Regions from separate parts of the Homo sapiens genome. Here region 2 is linked to region 1. Evidence: promoter capture Hi-C in 16 types of primary human blood cells and fetal thymus (Javierre and others, 2016). All regions are on one chromosome and are shown on one strand. The core of a region is centred on a gene start or on the middle of the fragment in contact, and the rest is flanking DNA. Distances in the headings are between cores, read along the strand shown. Region 1 holds the start of ADAD2-AS1 (ADAD2 antisense RNA 1). Region 2 holds the start of MLYCD (malonyl-CoA decarboxylase).

Evidence for each region. The method cuts DNA at HindIII sites, captures the fragments that hold promoters and counts their contacts. A CHiCAGO score of 5 or more calls a contact.
Region 2: the fragment with the promoter of MLYCD here is called in contact with the fragment with the promoter of ADAD2-AS1 in region 1 in 5 of 17 cell types (total CD8 T cells, neutrophils, naive CD4 T cells and 2 more); the score reaches 6.8 in total CD8 T cells.

Annotation. Positions count from the first base shown.
Region 1 is chr16:84,195,760-84,199,918 of GRCh38, forward strand. It overlaps ADAD2-AS1 (ADAD2 antisense RNA 1), which reads right to left and starts at 1,294. Exons shown (of 5, transcript NR_147175.1): 1 at 1,123-1,294. ADAD2 (adenosine deaminase domain containing 2) reads left to right here. Exons shown (of 10, transcript NM_001145400.2): 7 at 56-285; 8 at 368-611; 9 at 888-1,008; 10 at 1,111-1,407. The coding sequence ends at 1,215. RefSeq lists an enhancer at 1-524. The HindIII fragment of the contact is 32,016 bases long and covers 1-4,159 here.
Region 2 is chr16:83,897,187-83,900,976 of GRCh38, forward strand. It overlaps MLYCD (malonyl-CoA decarboxylase), which reads left to right and starts at 1,929. Exons shown (of 5, transcript NM_012213.3): 1 at 1,929-2,486. The coding sequence starts at 1,959. RefSeq lists silencers at 1,699-2,128, 2,429-2,598. The HindIII fragment of the contact is 8,175 bases long and covers 565-3,790 here.

The DNA of each region.
Region 1 (4,159 bases), core at 44-2,543:
GCCAGGGTCAGAAGAGCAGCCCTGAAGCTGATGTCTGTCCCCACCCGGCCCGCAGCCTGCCCCCCACCTCGGAAGGTGGCCTCCCGCACAGCCCACCCATGCGCCTGCAGGCCCATGTGCTCGGGCAGCTGAAGCCTGTGTGCTACGTGGCGCCCTCGCTCTGTGACACCCACGTGGGCTGCCTGTCAGCCAGTGACAAGCTGGCACGCTGGGCCGTGCTGGGGCTGGGTGGTGCCCTGCTGGCCCACCTGGTGTCCCCACTCTACAGCACCAGCCTCATCCTGGGTGAGCACGTGGTGAGGGCTGGGGGGGTGAGAAGGGAGGGCAGGGAGGTCACTCACCTTGTCCTGTCCCTTCTGCCCTGCAGCTGACTCATGCCACGACCCTCCGACTCTGAGCAGGGCCATCCACACCCGGCCCTGCCTGGACAGTGTCCTGGGGCCATGCCTGCCACCTCCCTACGTCCGGACCGCCCTGCACCTGTTTGCAGGGCCCCCGGTGGCCCCTTCCGAACCCACCCCTGACACCTGCCGTGGCCTGAGCCTCAACTGGAGCCTGGGGGACCCTGGCATCGAGGTTGTGGATGTGGCCACCGGGCGTGTGAAGGCCAAGTGAGAAGGGCCCCCTGGGGCCGGGCTGTGGAGCAGTGCTGGTGATGGAGGGCTCATGCATGAGCTTCCTCACCTCAGTCTAATCCCAGCGCAACCCCTTCGCTCAACCCCTTCGCTCAACCCCTTCCTAGCTCCGTAGTGGTGGCCACACCTCTGTCTGCCCTGTGAGTCCTGTGACATTGTCACAGTGTGAGAGGAGGTAGTGTGAGGTGTGTAGCAGGCCTGCTGGTCCAGCTTGTATCTCTCTGATCTCAGTGGTATCCTCTCTTCATCCAGTGCCGCCCTGGGGCCTCCCTCCCGTCTCTGCAAGGCCTCCTTTCTCCGGGCCTTTCACCAGGCGGCCAGGGCTGTGGGGAAGCCCTACCTCCTGGCCTTGAAGACCTACGAGGCTGCCAAGGTTGGTTCCCCACCCTCCCCCCGTCCCGGTCCCTCTCCAGCCCTGCAGTCCCTGCCCCCTGCAGGTACCTCCTCTCACCCCACCTCTCATCTCCCGCCCTAGGCTGGGCCCTACCAGGAGGCTCGCAGGCAGCTGTCTCTCCTCCTGGACCAGCAGGGCCTGGGGGCTTGGCCCTCGAAGCCACTGGTGGGCAAATTCAGAAACTGAAGCCAGCCTCGGCGGGACCGAGGTCCCGGAGCCAAGCTGTACCCCTGCTGGGGGAGTGCCCTATCTGAGGAGCGTTGTGGGGAGAACATGGGTTGTGCGGGGTGAAACTGGGGCTGGAGGGAAGGAGGAGCCTGCTGTGGTTGGGAGGCGGCTGCTGCACGTTTGGGCTTGAATAAAGAAGTATTTCTGGTTCCTGTGTGTGTAGTTGGCTGTGTGTGTGTGTGTGTGTGTGTTTATGTGTTGGGGTGGCCAGGGGCCCTTTGTTTGCGGAGAGAGCCCCTCACTCCTCCTTTGGGAGGCCCTGTGTTCACTGGGTTCCCACCTGGATCCTCTCACTGAGCCACTGAATTGTCACCCCCGCCCCTGTTCACAGGGCTGGAGGCAGGTTTAGGAGGGGAGGTGACCTCCCCTGGTTCCTCCTGTTTTCCAGCCTGTGTGCTGGAGGAGACCACGGAGGCCACGGGTTGCGGGTGTTGTAAAGGGTGGGAGGGCAGGCTGCTTGGATGTGTGAGCATTTTGTCCTCTGGCCGCTATTGGGGCTCCAAATCCTTGCCTTTCTGGGCCCCCAGGATGTGTGGGAGGGCAGAGAACACCCTTCCCTGGTCAGAGCTTTAGCTGCCCTGGCCCTCGAGGGTGCTGTGGGGTCTGGGCAGCCCCATGTTGAAGGGCGTGGGGAGGGCATGAGCAGCATCAGTGCTTTCCCTGGGCCGCCCGGCTGTTGGACCTGGGCGAGGCATTGGACCGCTAGAGCCTGCGTCTTCCACCATGGAGAGGGACAGTGCTCCTGCCCTGTGTGGGCTCGGCAGTTCTCTCTCCGTTTCCCCCAGGGTAGCATAGTAAGGCCACATGGCACTCAGGCACTCTGTTGACTCTGGATGGGGAGAGAAGATGGTAACACTAAAAGCATGTGTGCGTGCACACTCGCACACACACCTGGAACCTCACCAGCATGGGCACTATAGCCGTTGAGCCAGGAGCACAACAGCTTTGAAGTCCAGGGACCTGGGGCCAGGGACAGTAGAGGACCGTGGCCAGCCCTGTGACCCCCACCCTGTGACTCCCTCCCTGCATCCCTAGCAGTTGCAGGGTTCAGAACCACAGGCTACTCTCCCATGTGGGGTGTCTCTGGGAGGGATTAGCATCTAATTATGGGGCTGAGTAAGAAGATGGCGCTCCCCAGTGCAGGCAGGCACCATCCAATCCACTGAGGGCCTGCAAACAACAAGCAAGCAGAGGAAGGTGAATTCGCTCTCTCCCCTTGAGCTGGGACATCACAACTCCTGGGTCTCTGGCCTTCAGACTTGGACCAGGACTCATAACATTGGTTCTCCCAGTTCTCAGGCCTTCGAGTTTGGACTAGAACGCCACCACGTGGGCCCCCAGCACTCACACAGCAAATGGTGGGACTGCTTCGACTCCGTATCGTGTGGGTCAATGCCTCGCAATACATCTCTATATATCCTGTTGGTTCTGTTTCTCTGGAGAACCCTGACCGATGCAGACAGCTCACTCCAGAGCTGTCACTCAGGGCCAGGCCTAATGTTGAAGTCGTGCGATTGGGTCCTCTCCCTCCAACCCCCTTTTGTCTCTGCCACTGGGTGTGTGTGGCCGTGGCCACGGGCAGCCACTTAACCTCCGTGCTTGTAGGTTGACTCATCTAGAGAAATAATCAGAGGGCTGGTCCCAGGGGTGTGTTCTTGGCCAGCCTGCCCATCTGCAGGCCTGGGCTTTCCGTCTGCTTTCGCTGGGCTCATCCTGTCTCCTTTCCCCACAGTGACGATGAAATGGGAGAATCTGAGGGAGGTGGGGTAGAGGAAACAGCACCAGTGGACAGACTAGACAACTCCAGCACGCCTGAAGCATGGTGTGTCTGTTCTGTTTTAACCTCCCACAGCTTGCCATGATAGATGCGATCATTGCCTCAGTGTACAGGTGAGGAAACTGGCAAGGTGCAGTTAGGTAACTTCTAGAACACCCAGCACCTGAGGTGGGCTGGAGCTGTGGTGATGTGCAGGCCGCCAGGCTTCCAAGCCCTTCGATTGCAGCCACCACCCAGGGCTGCAGCTGGATTTCCTTACGTGACCTTGGATGAAACTCTGAACCTCTCTGAGCCCCAGTTTGCTCATTTATAAAACAAGGACTAGGTGATATCCTTCCTAAGGTTCCCTCGCGTTCTCTGCTCTGCTCTTTCCCGACTGCTGCAGGAGGTCAGGAGGATGCCCAGTGCTATTACAGGGAAGAGCTGCAGGCTGGCAGCCTGCGGGGAGGCGAGTCTGGAGCTGGGGGCATCAGGCTGGGAAAACGGCAGGCGGGAGGGCCGGAGAGGGGAGCTGAGAGGCAGGAGGAGCTGCAATTCACATGTGCAAAGGACAGGAGGTGAGCCCTTGCTGAGGGAGGAGGACTACAGAGAGAGGCGTTTGCACCAGCAGGAAGGGTCCGCGGGGCCGGGAAAGCCAGGAAAGCACCGATTTCTTGTTTGAGAAGACAAGGATTTTTACCTTTAGTTTTTGGTTTTTTAAAAAAACAAAAAAACAGAAAACACTTCTCAGGCCAACCTTGAAATAATGATTTCTCGTGGCTCTTTTTTTTCAGGGATTAAGAGAGGGGGGTTTAAGAACACCCAAGCCTATTAGCCTGTGTATTACACATTGTTTTCCCCAGGAAATAGTTTACATTGATTTACTTTTTGTACTGTAGTAGTAACTACAACCAAATCTGGAAATATACCAGCCATTTCCAATTTCAGTTTGATGCAATGAGCCTTTTGGTGTTCATTAATCACATAATCACTGGATAAACAAGTTTTTCAAATCGACATTAACTCTGTTGTGTTCCGCCAAATCAGTAATATTTGTCCCCACGTTGCATACATCTGCTTGTCCAGTGCTTTCCTCCCAAGACAGTCTTTTCGTGACATCAGAGTCGCTCAGTTCTTTTGACTCAG
Region 2 (3,790 bases), core at 679-3,178, 300 kb before region 1:
CAACCGGATCTCCTGAGAACTCACTGTAGGGTACCAAGCGGGGATGGTGCTAACCCATTTATGAGAACTCTGCCCCTATGATCCAATCATTTCTTACCAGGCGCCACCTCCAACACTGAGGATTACAACTAGACATGAGATTTGGTTGGACACAGATCCAAACCATATGAGCTATATTAACAATATTACATCTTCCAATCCATGAACCATGCATGGACCATTCCATTTGTTTAGGTCTTCTTTAATTTCCTTCAATACTGTTCTGTGGTTTTCCATCTACCAGTCTCACACTTCCTTGGTTAAACATGTTTCTTTTATCCCTTCAGATGTTGTTGTAAATAGAATTGTTTCTTTAATTTCATTTTTGGATTGGGGCAGTCTTTTGAAATAAGGACATGAGTGGGAAAAAGCAGAGGATGGCTGTTGACGCCTAGAGAAAAAAGTATAAACACAGAGAAAAAAAAAACAGAAGCCAGAAATTACATAAAAAGGAAGGCACCGGGAAAGATGAGAAAGAACAGGGTTGTGGGAGTACTACACTTAGCAAATGCTTAAGCAAAGTCAAGCTTTCAAGACAAGATTCCTAAAGCAAGGCAGGAGTATCCTAGGACAGACAAAAGCTCACTCGACAAGGCAAAGAGACAAACACCAGAGTTTGGACCCCACCAACTCCCTTAGCCAGCTGGCAATATGGTTTCACCACTTCTTAGAAAAGAGGAATGGAGAGGTGTCCTCAAAAGCCACCACTAGGCTTTCAGAATGTTTTGTGTGTCTGTGTCTTGGCAGAATGAGCCAAACGTACTTTCTTCGTGCCCCATAAGATGAGACACACCCAGCAAAGGCTGTCCTCATACAGAACTACCTCCAGGTGTCTTTTATACTGCAAGACCTGCACCAAAGGGTTCTACCTATAGAAATCCTAGCACCTAGACATAGTCAACCAAGTACATGGCTCCCTCACCCTCCAACCAAAGATGCCATATTTCCATCAGAGTGGAACAAAATCCCACTGTGTTCCTAATGCCTCCTGCAATTTTGCATGTGGGAGACATGGCTGGTATGTGACATTCTCTTCTACAGATTGTAATGGATTGGGGAAGGAGGGGGAACTAGAGTTCAGGCCTATCTTTCTAGAGGACAAAATAAATATGCCTTGATAACTGCAATTATCTGAAAACTATTTCAAAGAAAACTCTTTGTCTCATTCTGGCATTTGCTCAAGGGTATGGCTTTCCATCAGTCTCTCTGTCTCCATGTCTCTTTTACATACATATGTATGTGTATATGCGTGCGTATGTGTACATACATCCATACATATAGACATATTCTCTCTCTCTCCACACACACTCACACACCCCTCCAACCTCTGTGGCTCTGAGCGTCATGTGTGTAAGACACTGACGCGAATGGTGAGTGCCTAGGCAGGGGTCAAACAAAGGCTACCTACCATGCCAGAGGATTGCCACAAACACCTCTTAAGCAAGCATATTCCTTGGCTCCTCCCAGACACACTGAATCTGAATCTCTAGGATTCTGATTTCGGAGCCCAGGAATCCTCCGGTGCAGGAGTTCCCAGGTGACTCTGATGCACCGGGAGGCTGGAGGCGCTCGGATCTAGAGAGGAGGCGGCACTTGTGCAGTGCAGTCGGGAAAGAGAGGAGGGGCTGGGCCGGTGCCTTTAGGCGGTCAGGTGTTAGGACCGGAGTACAAGCCGCCAGCCGCGCGGGAGCAGGCCCCGAGGCAGCCCAGCCGCGGGGCAGTAACCTTTAGCCACACTTGGCCTCCGGCCGCCGCCAGAGCCGCTCCGCCCCCGCCGCCTCGCCCCCACCGCCCCGCCCTCCTATTGGCCGCGTCCCCAGCCGGGCTCGCGGCCTCGGCCAATGGGGCCGGCGCGCGCCGGAAGCCGGAAGCGCGGCAGCGGCGGCGGCGCTCCCCCTCGGCAGCTGTTGTGGGGCACCATGCGAGGCTTCGGGCCAGGCTTGACGGCCAGGCGTCTCCTCCCGCTGCGGTTGCCCCCGCGGCCGCCCGGGCCCCGGCTGGCGAGCGGGCAGGCGGCCGGCGCCCTGGAGCGGGCCATGGACGAGCTGCTGCGCCGCGCGGTGCCGCCGACGCCGGCCTACGAGCTGCGCGAGAAGACACCGGCGCCCGCCGAGGGTCAGTGCGCGGACTTCGTGAGCTTCTACGGTGGGCTGGCCGAGACGGCCCAGCGGGCCGAACTGCTGGGCCGCCTGGCGCGGGGCTTCGGCGTGGACCACGGCCAGGTGGCGGAGCAGAGCGCCGGCGTGCTCCATCTGCGCCAGCAGCAGCGGGAGGCGGCGGTGCTGCTGCAGGCCGAGGACCGGCTGCGCTACGCGCTGGTGCCGCGCTATCGCGGCCTCTTCCACCACATCAGCAAGCTGGACGGCGGCGTGCGCTTCCTGGTGCAGCTGCGGGCCGACCTGCTGGAGGCGCAGGCCCTCAAGCTGGTGGAGGGGCCGGACGTCCGGGTAAGGGGCCGCCGTCGATCCCCCGGCAGCGCGGACTGGCCGCCCTCCTCGAGTAGTCCTCACTTGCCCCCTCCAAGTCCCACACACCCCGCCTTCCCTGCCCGATAGCACGCTCACTTCGCCCGCAGTTACCGCCTGCCAACTGTGTCCCCTTCCCACGCTGTCTGAGTCCTGGCCTCGTCAGAGCACACCCCCGCCTTCCTCCAGTCTGTCCTTGAAGTCCTCACTTGTATAGTGTTTACTAAATACTCAGCACTTGGTGGTCTTTAAGGTAGCTGTCACCTCTCGTACCTGATTAGTGTGTGCTCTACAGTCTTTTGAAATTATTGTAGCTGAGAAGTGTTTCATCTATATGGTATACCTGAACTAGAGCATCAGGCAGCCTTCTGAGACCCTGGATGGTGTTTCAGAAGTTCACTGGGCACCCGCTATGTGTGAGACATTGTCCTGAGAAGTCCTGTGAAATGCACAAAGGTAAATAGGACTCAAGGTCACCACCACCACCCAGGAGTCTCCATGGCTTCTGGCCTTGTCTGTGCTCCATGACTTTTGGGAGGGCATTTAACTCCCTGCGTTCAGTACTTAATGTGATGATTCTGAGTTGACTTGAGGTAATCAGGCATTAGCACAGTTCATTCATGTTAAATGCAGACACATACTTTGAGATTTAAATGATTATGACCCGAAAGAAGGCCTAGAGCAACATATACTCTTCTTTTATACTGTTAGTATTAAATACGGCGAAAAACTAACCTGCCCTTTTTTTATTTTTATTTTTGTTGCCCAGACTGGAGTACAGTGGTGTTATCACGGCTCACTGCAGCCTCGACTTCCCCAGGCTCAAGCAATCTTCCCACCTCAGCCTCCTGAGTAGCTGGGACTACAGGTGCAGGCCACCATGCCCGGCTAATTTTTTTTTTTTTTTTTTTTTTTTGTAGAGAGGGCGTTTCACCATGTGGCCCAGGCTTAACCTGCCCTTTTAATGAACGAAAAATGACGTAAATGTTTCAGGAAGTTTTGGACATTCAGAAGTTTGTTATGTGCAGTTGGTGTTAAAAAAAAATTGAACACTTGAATGATTATGACTTGACCCATTTAAGAACTCTAATACTGGTTTAATAGTTTACATTCCTTCAGTCTTACGTGGGTGATAACACGTATCCCTTTTACAGTAAAGGAGAACATGCTGAGGTTGTGTTACTTGTCCTGAAATTCAGAGCGAAAAGCTCTTGCTGATCACCCACCCTAATCCAGGGTTATTTGCACTACGCTTTATATCACTGTCTTACCGTTAATCAGATGTT